Regions from separate parts of the Homo sapiens genome. Here region 1 is linked to region 2. Evidence: promoter capture Hi-C in 16 types of primary human blood cells and fetal thymus (Javierre and others, 2016). All regions are on one chromosome and are shown on one strand. Each heading gives the region's core, a stretch centred on a gene start or on the middle of the fragment in contact. The rest is flanking DNA. Distances are from core to core; before and after follow the strand shown.

Evidence for each region. The method cuts DNA at HindIII sites, captures the fragments that hold promoters and counts their contacts. A CHiCAGO score of 5 or more calls a contact.
Region 1: a fragment that was not itself captured here is called in contact with the fragment with the promoter of ANXA6 in region 2 in 3 of 17 cell types (naive CD4 T cells, activated CD4 T cells and fetal thymus); the score reaches 6.1 in naive CD4 T cells.

What each region holds. Positions count from the first base shown.
Region 1 is chr5:150,708,399-150,713,245 of GRCh38, reverse strand. It overlaps DCTN4 (dynactin subunit 4), which reads left to right. Exons shown (of 13, transcript NM_016221.4): 13 at 1,884-4,806. The coding sequence ends at 2,097. Among named protein-coding and RNA genes, the nearest start is that of RBM22, 9.8 kb to the right of the region's middle. The HindIII fragment of the contact is 3,508 bases long and covers 1-3,504 here.
Region 2 is chr5:151,156,529-151,160,823 of GRCh38, reverse strand. ANXA6 (annexin A6) reads left to right here and starts at 3,045. Exons shown (of 26, transcript NM_001155.5): 1 at 3,045-3,144. RefSeq lists a silencer at 2,173-2,232 and an enhancer at 2,028-2,884. The HindIII fragment of the contact is 7,741 bases long and covers 2,741-4,295 here.

The DNA.
Region 1 (4,847 bases), core at 501-3,000, 450 kb after region 2:
AGGTATCAGTGGTTGCCTGGGAAATTAAGGATAAAAAGAAAGACTGATGTTTTTCTTTTTACCATTTTAAACTGTTTGAATTATTTTTTACATGACTCATACAAATCAAAGGTCTGGTTAGTTACTGTAATACAAAATGTGCTGAGTTGTACAGTACAAAATGTGTTCTCTCAAATCCTTGCTTTATGTGGGTCCTCAAATTAATTAGGTACAGAAATTTGTTAAGCCAAGATATACTTCTGGAATGATTGTCTGAGATATCAGATTTCAGCCTGATTACATGATAGAGTAATTAAAAACTGAATTAATTATATTTTACATTATTAGATTTAATAGAACTTTCAGATTTCTGGAAACTAACACTGTATAAATATGTAAATATGTAATCCCAGTAACCTTTCTTAGAGTAACTGAATGTCATTTGGGTAGTAGACAAATTCTGTTTATTTCATTGCCCTTTTACTTTCAGAAACTAAGTTATTAAAGCACAAACTGTATGCACAAATGAGGGGAAATTGAAATGCAAACCTCAATGAAGAGACATTTTTGTGCTAAAATTCCTAATTACATAAGTTATTTACAAAAACATTCTTGATTTATGGTGTTCCAAAATTTCCCTTAAAGCACTGAGTTATTAAAACTTCCCACAGTATGGCCAGGCATGGTGGCTCATGCCTATAATCCCAGCACTTTGGGAGGCCAAGGCAGAAGGATCATTTGAGCTTAGGAGGTCAAGGCTACCATGAACTATGATCGTGCCACTGCTCTCCAGCCTGGGTAACAGAGCAAAACCTTGTCTCTAAAAAATAAAAATAAGGCCGGGTGCATTGGCTTATGCTTGTGATCCCAGCACTTTGGGAGGCTGAGGCGGGTGGATCACCTGAGATCAGGAGTTCGAGACCAGTCTGACCAATGTGGTGAAACCCCATCTCTACTAAAATTATAAAAATTAGCTGGGCGTGATGGTGTGCACCTGTAATCCCAGCTACTCAGGAGGCCGAGGCAGGAGAATCGCTGGAACCCAGGAGGCGGAGGTTGCGGTGAGCCAAGATTGCGCCACTGCACTCCAGCCTGGGTGACAGAGCGAGACTCCATCTCAAAAAAATAAATAAATAAATAACTTTCCACGGTATGAGTCTATGTTCTATAGAAATATTGCATTTGCACAGAGGTAAATGTAAAGGGATGTTTGCAGCACCATTGTTTATAATAGAGAAAAGTTGTCAGCAACCTCAGTATATGCCAATTATGGTAAACACATAATTGAATACTGTGCAACCATTACATAGATTGTAGATGATCTGTATATACCAGCGTCAAAAGGTGTTTGTGATAAACAGAGTTAAAAAAAAGCAAGTTATGGAATAGTGTGTACCATCTGTGTTGGTTAGAAAAGCAGAAAAGTATAAGCTCATAGAAAAATATATGGCCAACGTGTTGGCTTATGCCCGTAATCCCAGCACTTTTGGAGGCCAAGGCAAGCAGATCACCTGAGCCCTGGTGTTCGAGACCAGCCTGGGCAACGTGGCGAAACCCCATCTCCACCAAAAAATATACGTATTAATATATAAAGCTAGCCAGGTGTGGTGGTGCATGCCTGTAGTCCCAGCTACTCGGGAGGCTGAGATGGGAGAGTTACTTGAGCCCGTGAAACAGAGGTTGCAGTGACCCAAGGTGGAGCCATTGCACTCCAGCCTGGGCGACAGAGCGAGACTGTGTCTCAAAACAAAACAAAAAAATACTTGGTAGGTTAAGAACAAAGTGTTTATAGGTTTTCTGTGTGTGCTGAAGGAAAGAATAAGGTGAAAGACTTTTACTGTAAGTCTTAGTGGTTTGGCTGATTTTTTTATCTACCTAATACTTGCTTTTTTTTCTTTCCATAGCATTATAGCCTTCAGAAAGGCCAACAAAGTGGGTATTTTCATCAAAGTTACACCACAGCGTGAGGAGGGTGAAGTGACCGTGTGCTTCAAGATGAAGCATGATTTTAAAAACCTGGCAGCCCCCATTCGCCCCATTGAAGAAAGTGACCAGGGAACAGAAGTCATCTGGCTCACCCAGCATGTGGAACTTAGCTTGGGCCCACTTCTTCCTTAAAAGGTTCCACTGGAGGGCAGATCCCAAAGGACAGTATCACCGTAAACCTGCGTTAAAATGTGGAAGCTGCTGCTTCATTAGGCCTTGTTTATAACGATGTACCCATGCACTACGGAATTCTATTGCTAAGAAAGTGGGAGCATAGGCAAGGCATTGGGAACACAGGGTAGCTGCTGTTGCTCTTGCTCTCACCCCTGTTGACACCAGTAAGTCTGTGTCTCCCTCACTGAACCCTGCACGTTGAGTAACAGCAGCATAATTCCATCCTAGGAAAGGGGATGGGTGTTCCTTGGAATGGCATTGTATTTACCACCTGAGAAACTCTGTACTGTCTCTTGATCTGATCTCACTAAGGATCACAATGTCACAGATGAAACTTAAATGATAACCCAAAGGTAGACCTGCTGTTAATGATCCAGCATTGGTCACAATGTACCAACTGCTTTCTGCATTCCGTTAAATATCATCTAACAGTCTAAAACATATCCCTTCATTGCCATAATGGCTGCCATTTTGCCATAGATTTCCATATAACTGAAAAACTGAATTGTCACTTTATCTTTAGTATCATGATGATTGGAAAAACCTGTGAAGTTGTTAAGGCACTCTCATTTGCCCTCTTTTTCTAAGTGAATACAGGACACGTATTAGTTGTTCTTAATTTTTTTCCCAGTAAAATATGGATCTTTTAAGAAGAATTTGAGAAGCAAACAATTACATGTCATGTCAAGGGGGTAGCAGATTCCATTCGTTTTCAATATTGCCACAATACCCAGGGATTAATGCTGCCACAGGGGGGCAATCTTTATTTGTCTTACTTCCTACCCCTTCCCTGTTCTGCCTCTTTAACTCAGTTAAGTTGTTCTGTTTGGGACCTGGAAAAGAACCCAAAGAAAACCTGAGTGGACAGGTTCATTTCTGGAATGCAGAAAACATTTTAAAGGCTAGATTTTTAGAATATTCTCAACTAGCATTCTTTCCATTGATTTGAAGGGGAAATTAACTATTATAATCTCTTGAATCCAAAACTGGATATTAAGAACTTTCCCCCTTACTAAGTTTAAGACTTTTGTCATGTGGTGAGTCAAATAAGACCATTTTGATTGTAAACCATAAAATAGTTCAGCAAGTAGCCCACAGTTCTGGCCTAACAGCAGACTTGCTGTTTTCACTTGGTATCCTGGAGTTGGGTTGCTAACCTTAATTTCTATGATGTTTTCTAAAATGAAACTTGATAAAGTAGACCACCAGCTGCACCGTGTTTTCTGTAAAAGTATTGTTAGTAAGTGGCCAAGAGACTTGAGGAAAATACAGATTTTTTGTTTACCTTGGTCTTGTTTTAAGTCTTAAAAAATTAAAGATAACATTATAATGTAGAATACAGATGGGACATAGTCCTTGTAAGCTTCCCTTGAAAATGTTTTAAATATTTAGGAAGCTTTTAAAAGACACTAAATTGTACTCTAAAAGACACTAAATTGTACTAATTGTACAAAGGTCAAGCCAATTTTATGAAACAGTCCTACAGAGTAATATATGTGATGCAGTGTAAGAAGGAAAATACTCATCTCTAACATTATGGTAATAACATTTAGCCTCTTAGGAGTTGGAGCAGGGGGATGGGTAATTACAGATTTGCAGACTATAGAAAGAGTTTCATTTTTTTGTGACCCCACAGAGTCTCAAATTTTTATTTCACTACCTGCTAGAGCCTACTGTGAAATCACTGCTCCATATTTGCCAGTGGAGGAAATGGGCATAGAGTAGAGAATAGCTTCATATGTTTACACGTTTGCATAGACTACACACATGTCATGCGTTTATGGCAGGTAGCTGGTATTTATTCCCCAAAGTAATAATGTTGAAGTATGGGTCTCATCATTCCCATACACAGAAACACAAAACACTTTGATCATAAACTTTTTTCTTCAGAAGCCAAACTAACTTGCAGAATAATAGAGCCACTGGTTTAATGTTTCCTCAAGATAGGTTTTAGTGTAAGCTAGTATTCTGTGTGTTCGTAGAAATGATTCAATACCTGCAGCTGGTGAATTAGGAATTGTATTTGTTGCCTTTTTTATATTAGATGAGGTGCAAAAATTTTAATGCTAGTCAGTATGCACCACCACAGGAAAGTTAGATCCCATTAGCACTTGAAACTACAGCTTTGGAAACTTAGGCTAAGTTAATTTGGATTTGTTACTTGATTCACCTACTGACCTTTTCTTTTGTTTGAAGTGCTTATCAGCATAATGAGCTAAGTGTCATGCATATTTGTGAAGAAACACCCTTTTTGGTCCCTTTTGGGACAGAGAGGTACTCCTTGATCTTTATGAATGACAGGTTACTGTTTTGCCTTATTGCTTAACTTAATGTAGTGAAATAAAGCAGACAAAGCTTGAGCGTGTCTTTTGTTTGCTCTCATGTAGATACTAAGTAGCATGGCTCAGAGCCAAAAGACAAGCGTGAAGTTAAGAGAGTTGGCTAAGAGAGTTGGTGGGGCATGCTCCCTTCCATTCCTTAAATGAAGTAATCTAAAATCTCTTAGCAGGTTAGTTCACCATAATATATAAGTAGATGTTGCTTTGAGCTTCTTATATACATATTCACAGAACCATTATATAAATGTTGTTAGACCTCTACCAGTTTTTATCCTGGGTCATTGCTTCTAAAGATATCCTTTACAATATACACAGTGGTCTGACTCCACCAGTGGCCACTCATCACCTTCATCTGTACCTTCATAACTG
Region 2 (4,295 bases), core at 1,796-4,295:
GGCCAGGTGCGGTGGCTCACACCTGTAATCCCAGCACTTTGGGAGGCCAAGGCAGGTGGATCACCTGAGGTCAGGAGTTCAAGACCAACCTGGCCAACATGATGAATCCCCGTCTCTACTAAAAAAATACAAAAATTAACTGGGCATGGTAGCAGGTGCCTGTAATCCCAGCTATTTGGGAGGCTGAGGCGGAAAGAATTGCTTGAACCCACGAGGTGAAGGTTGCAGTGAGCCGACATGGCACCACTGCACTCCAGCCTGGGCAACAGAACGAGCCTCTGTCTCAAACAAACACAAAAGTCTTATCCAGAATATAAAAAGAACTCATATAACTTAACAACAAAAAAGACAAAAAATCCAATTTAAAAATGAGCAAAAAGCATGATTAGATATTTTTCCAAAGAAGATGTACAAATAGTGGCCAATGAGCACACAAAAAAGATACTCCACATCATTAGTCAGAAGGGAAATGCAAATCAAAAACACAATTATAGATGCCATTTCATAATGACTAGAGCACAAGTTTTTTGTACTTTTGTTTTTTTGAGACAAGTTCTCACTCTGTCGCCCAGGCTGGAGTGCAGTGGTGCAATCACGGCTCACTGCAGCCTCTACCTTCCAGCTTCAAGGGATCATCCCACCTCAGCCTCTCCAGTAGCTGGGATTGCAGGCATGTGCCACTACCCCTGGTTAATTTTTTGTAGAGATGCGGTTTCGTCATGTTGTCCAGGCTGGTCTCAAACTCGTGGGCTCAAGCAATTCACCCACCTCGGCCCTCCCAAAGTACTGGCATTACAGGCATGAGCCACTGTGCCTGGCCGGGTACAAATTTTTAAAAAATAAAATACAAGTGTTGGCAAGGACATGGAGAAATTAAAAGCCTCATACATGACATGGCTGATGGGAATATAAAATGTTGCAGCCACTCTGAAAAAATGTTTGGCAGTTCCTCAAAAACTTAAATGTAGAATTACTATATGACCCAGCAGTTTCATTCCTAGGTAAATACACAACGACAATTGAAAACAGGTACTCAAATAAGTATTTGTATGCAAATGTTCATTAGCAGCACTATTCACAATCAGCAAAAGGGGGAAACAATGCACTATCCATCAACAGATGGATGGATAAACAAATTATAGTGTACTTATACAACGGAAAATTATTCAGCCATTAAAAGGAATGGAGTGCTGGACCGGACACGGTGGCGCATGCCTGTAATCCCAGCACTTTGGGAGGCAAAGGCGGGTGGATCACCTGAGGTCAGGAGTTCGAGACCAGCCTAACTAACATGGTAAAACCCCATCTCTACTAAATACAAAAATAAATTAGCCACACGTGGTGGTGCATGCCTGTAATCCCAGCTGCTCGGAAGGCTGAGGCAGGAGAATTCCTTGAATCTGAGAGGTGGAGGTTGCAGTGAGCCGAGATCACGCCATTGCACTCCAGCCTTGGCAACAAGAGCAAAACTCCAACTGAAACTAAAAAAAAAAAGGAATGGAGTGCTGATACATGCTACAGTGTGGATGAACTTCAAAAACATGCCACATGAGGCCAGGCACGGTGGCTCACGCCTGTAATCCCAGCACTTTGGGAGGCCGAGGCAGGTGGATCACCTGAGGTCGGGAGTTCAAGACCAACCTGACCAACATGGAAAAACCCCGTCTCTACTAAAAATACAGAATTAGCTGGGTGTGGTGGCGCATGCCTGTAATCCCAACTACTCGGGAGGCTGAGGCAGGAGAATTGCTTGAACCCAGGAGGCAGAAGTTGTGGTGAGCAGAGATCACGCCACTGCACTCCAGCCTGGGCGACAAGAGTGAAAAAACAACAACAAAAACAAACAAACAAAATGCCACATGAAAGAAGTCAGACAAGAAGGGTTGCATCTCATGTGATTCCATGTATATGAAATATCCAGAATAGGCACATCCGCAGAAGCAGAAAGCAAATTGGTGGTTGCCAGAGACGAGGGGTAAGGGAAAGTTAGGAGTGACTGCTCAGTGGGTATACTGTTTTATTTTTCCGTGAAGAGAATATTTTGGAACTAGATAGAGGTGGTGGATACACAACATTGTGTCTGTACAAAATGCCACTGAATTGTTGACTTTAAAATGGTTAATTTTATGTTGTGTGGATTTCATCTACCCAAAAATAATACCCTTTCTTTGCTCAATATCCTGCAATGGATCCCCAGTTGACTCAGAGTAAAAGACAGCGTGCCTTCAAGGGCCCCGGAGGTCCCACCTGATTGGGTCCCTCTTATCTCTCCTCTCCCTCCCACTCACTCCATTCCAGCCACACTGGCCCCCCTGCTGATCCTCGGAGGCGCCAGGTGGCCTCCTGCTAGGAGCATTTGCTCCAGCAGTTTCCTCTGCCTGGAACACTTTCCGCAGGTATCTGTCCAATTCTTCTAACTTCCTCATCTTCTCCTTACCAATCCCCTGGGGACAATAATTCTCAGTTTCCTCTGTATTCTCAGTTTATCAATTTTTCCTGTTCTAGCGCTGGATTACAACTGCTGGTCTCCCTGCCTGCCTTCCCTGCTTCCCAGAGCACGAAGAAGCTTGCCTCCGCAACCCACTATTTGTGTGACCTTGGTCCAGGAACTGGACTGGGCTCTCCTCCTGAAAGTGGGTAAATAATGTCACCGACCTAATGAGGCTGTTGAGGCATGGAATCTGATCAGGCAGATAAAGTGCCCCTGGCAAACCTCAATTTTCTGTTTCTCAACAAAGCTTTGGCGACTTATAAGAATTTGCGGGAAAGTGTCCAGAACCCGGAGTCAGGAGCCCTGACTTCTAGCCCTGAAGGGCCGCGTGACCTTGGCCAAAGCCCCTAATCCTTCTCAGTCTCAGATCCGGGGGCTGGAAACTGAGGAGGTTCTCCCGGCAAGCCCCTCGGGCTAGTGACATTCTAAGATTCCAAGAGCTAAGGAGCTAGAGGGGTGGGGTGGAGGAGGGAGGCGGGCGCGCCGGATTGGCCTCTGCGCGCCACGTGTCCGGCTCGGAGCCCACGGCTGTCCTCCCGGTCCGCCCCGCGCTGCGGTTGCTGCTGGGCTAACGGGCTCCGATCCAGCGAGCGCTGCGTCCTCGAGTCCCTGCGCCCGTGCGTCCGTCTGCGACCCGAGGCCTCCGCTGCGCGGTGAGTGGGCTGAGGCTGGAGAGGGGAGTCGCTCTGGGAACCCCTTCCCGGGGGCTGCAGGGACACAAGAAATAAGCGCCCAGTCATCGGCTGATGGGTACCCCCCGCCAGGAGCAGGGACGGGAGGGCGCGGTAACCCGAGAGTGTCGCAGACTGGGTGTGTCTGGGGAGCGCAGCGGAGCAAATCTGGGGTCGGGGCGGAGAGGCGCGGGCGGAGGGCGCCCTGGCTAGGGGGAGGGGAGGGAGTCCCGTTGCTGCAGAGGGTCTGGTTGAGGGTCCTGGGCGCCGGAGCTGAGCCAGGGGCTGGTCCTGCCGGCCTTAATTTGGGGGGGCTCAAGAGACTTTGAAGGTCCGGGGTTGGGGTCAGCTGGACGCCAGTCAAAGGACCCGCAGAGAAGGGTGTGGCTGAGGCCCAAGACTGAGAGCAAGAGCGTTGGACCCTCCAGCTGCTTATAAAATGGCTTGTGTGTGGTGTCGGGGGAGGGCTGCCTGCGTGCAGAGAGCTGAACGTCCGGTCGTACATACCTCAGGGCCTCATTGGACCCCATCCCCTTTGGGCCACTGCTTGTCTATGAATGCAGTCTCCCAACGGGGCTCCGAGGCCTCCTATGGTGAGGCAGGGGCACTACCCTTCTTTCTGCATCCCCTAAGCGGTCTAGGCCTTCCCAAAGTTTGGGGGCTTCAAATAATTCCCCATATACCAGCATGGGAGCAAAATACCCTGAATCGGAATCCCAGCCCCTGTTGCAGTGTGACTTTGGGCGGTGGCTTTCCCTCTCTGAGCCTGGATTTCCTTCTCCAAGTCCATAGTTGAGAAACCCAGTCTCTTTCAAAGGAAACAATGGCTTTGAAAACTGATTTATTTGTCAGCTGTATGGAATGATTGCAGGTTTGGGAGTCTTGATTATAGATTTGGGAAGCCTGGCACAACCCTTGTAGGCCCTACAAGGGGAAAGGGCAGGAGGTCCTTTGGGACAACTAATCTGGCCACGGCTTCCTGCCTCCTCCTTCCTTTCCCTAGATTCTAGTGGGTCTTCTCTGACAATTCCAAATTTGGACATATGGCTCCCGGGTTTGTGAAAGGACTCTGGTTTCCCCCCAAGAGTCCGCCCTTTTCCCTCCATTATTCCTTCCCCCTTGCCCAAAACATG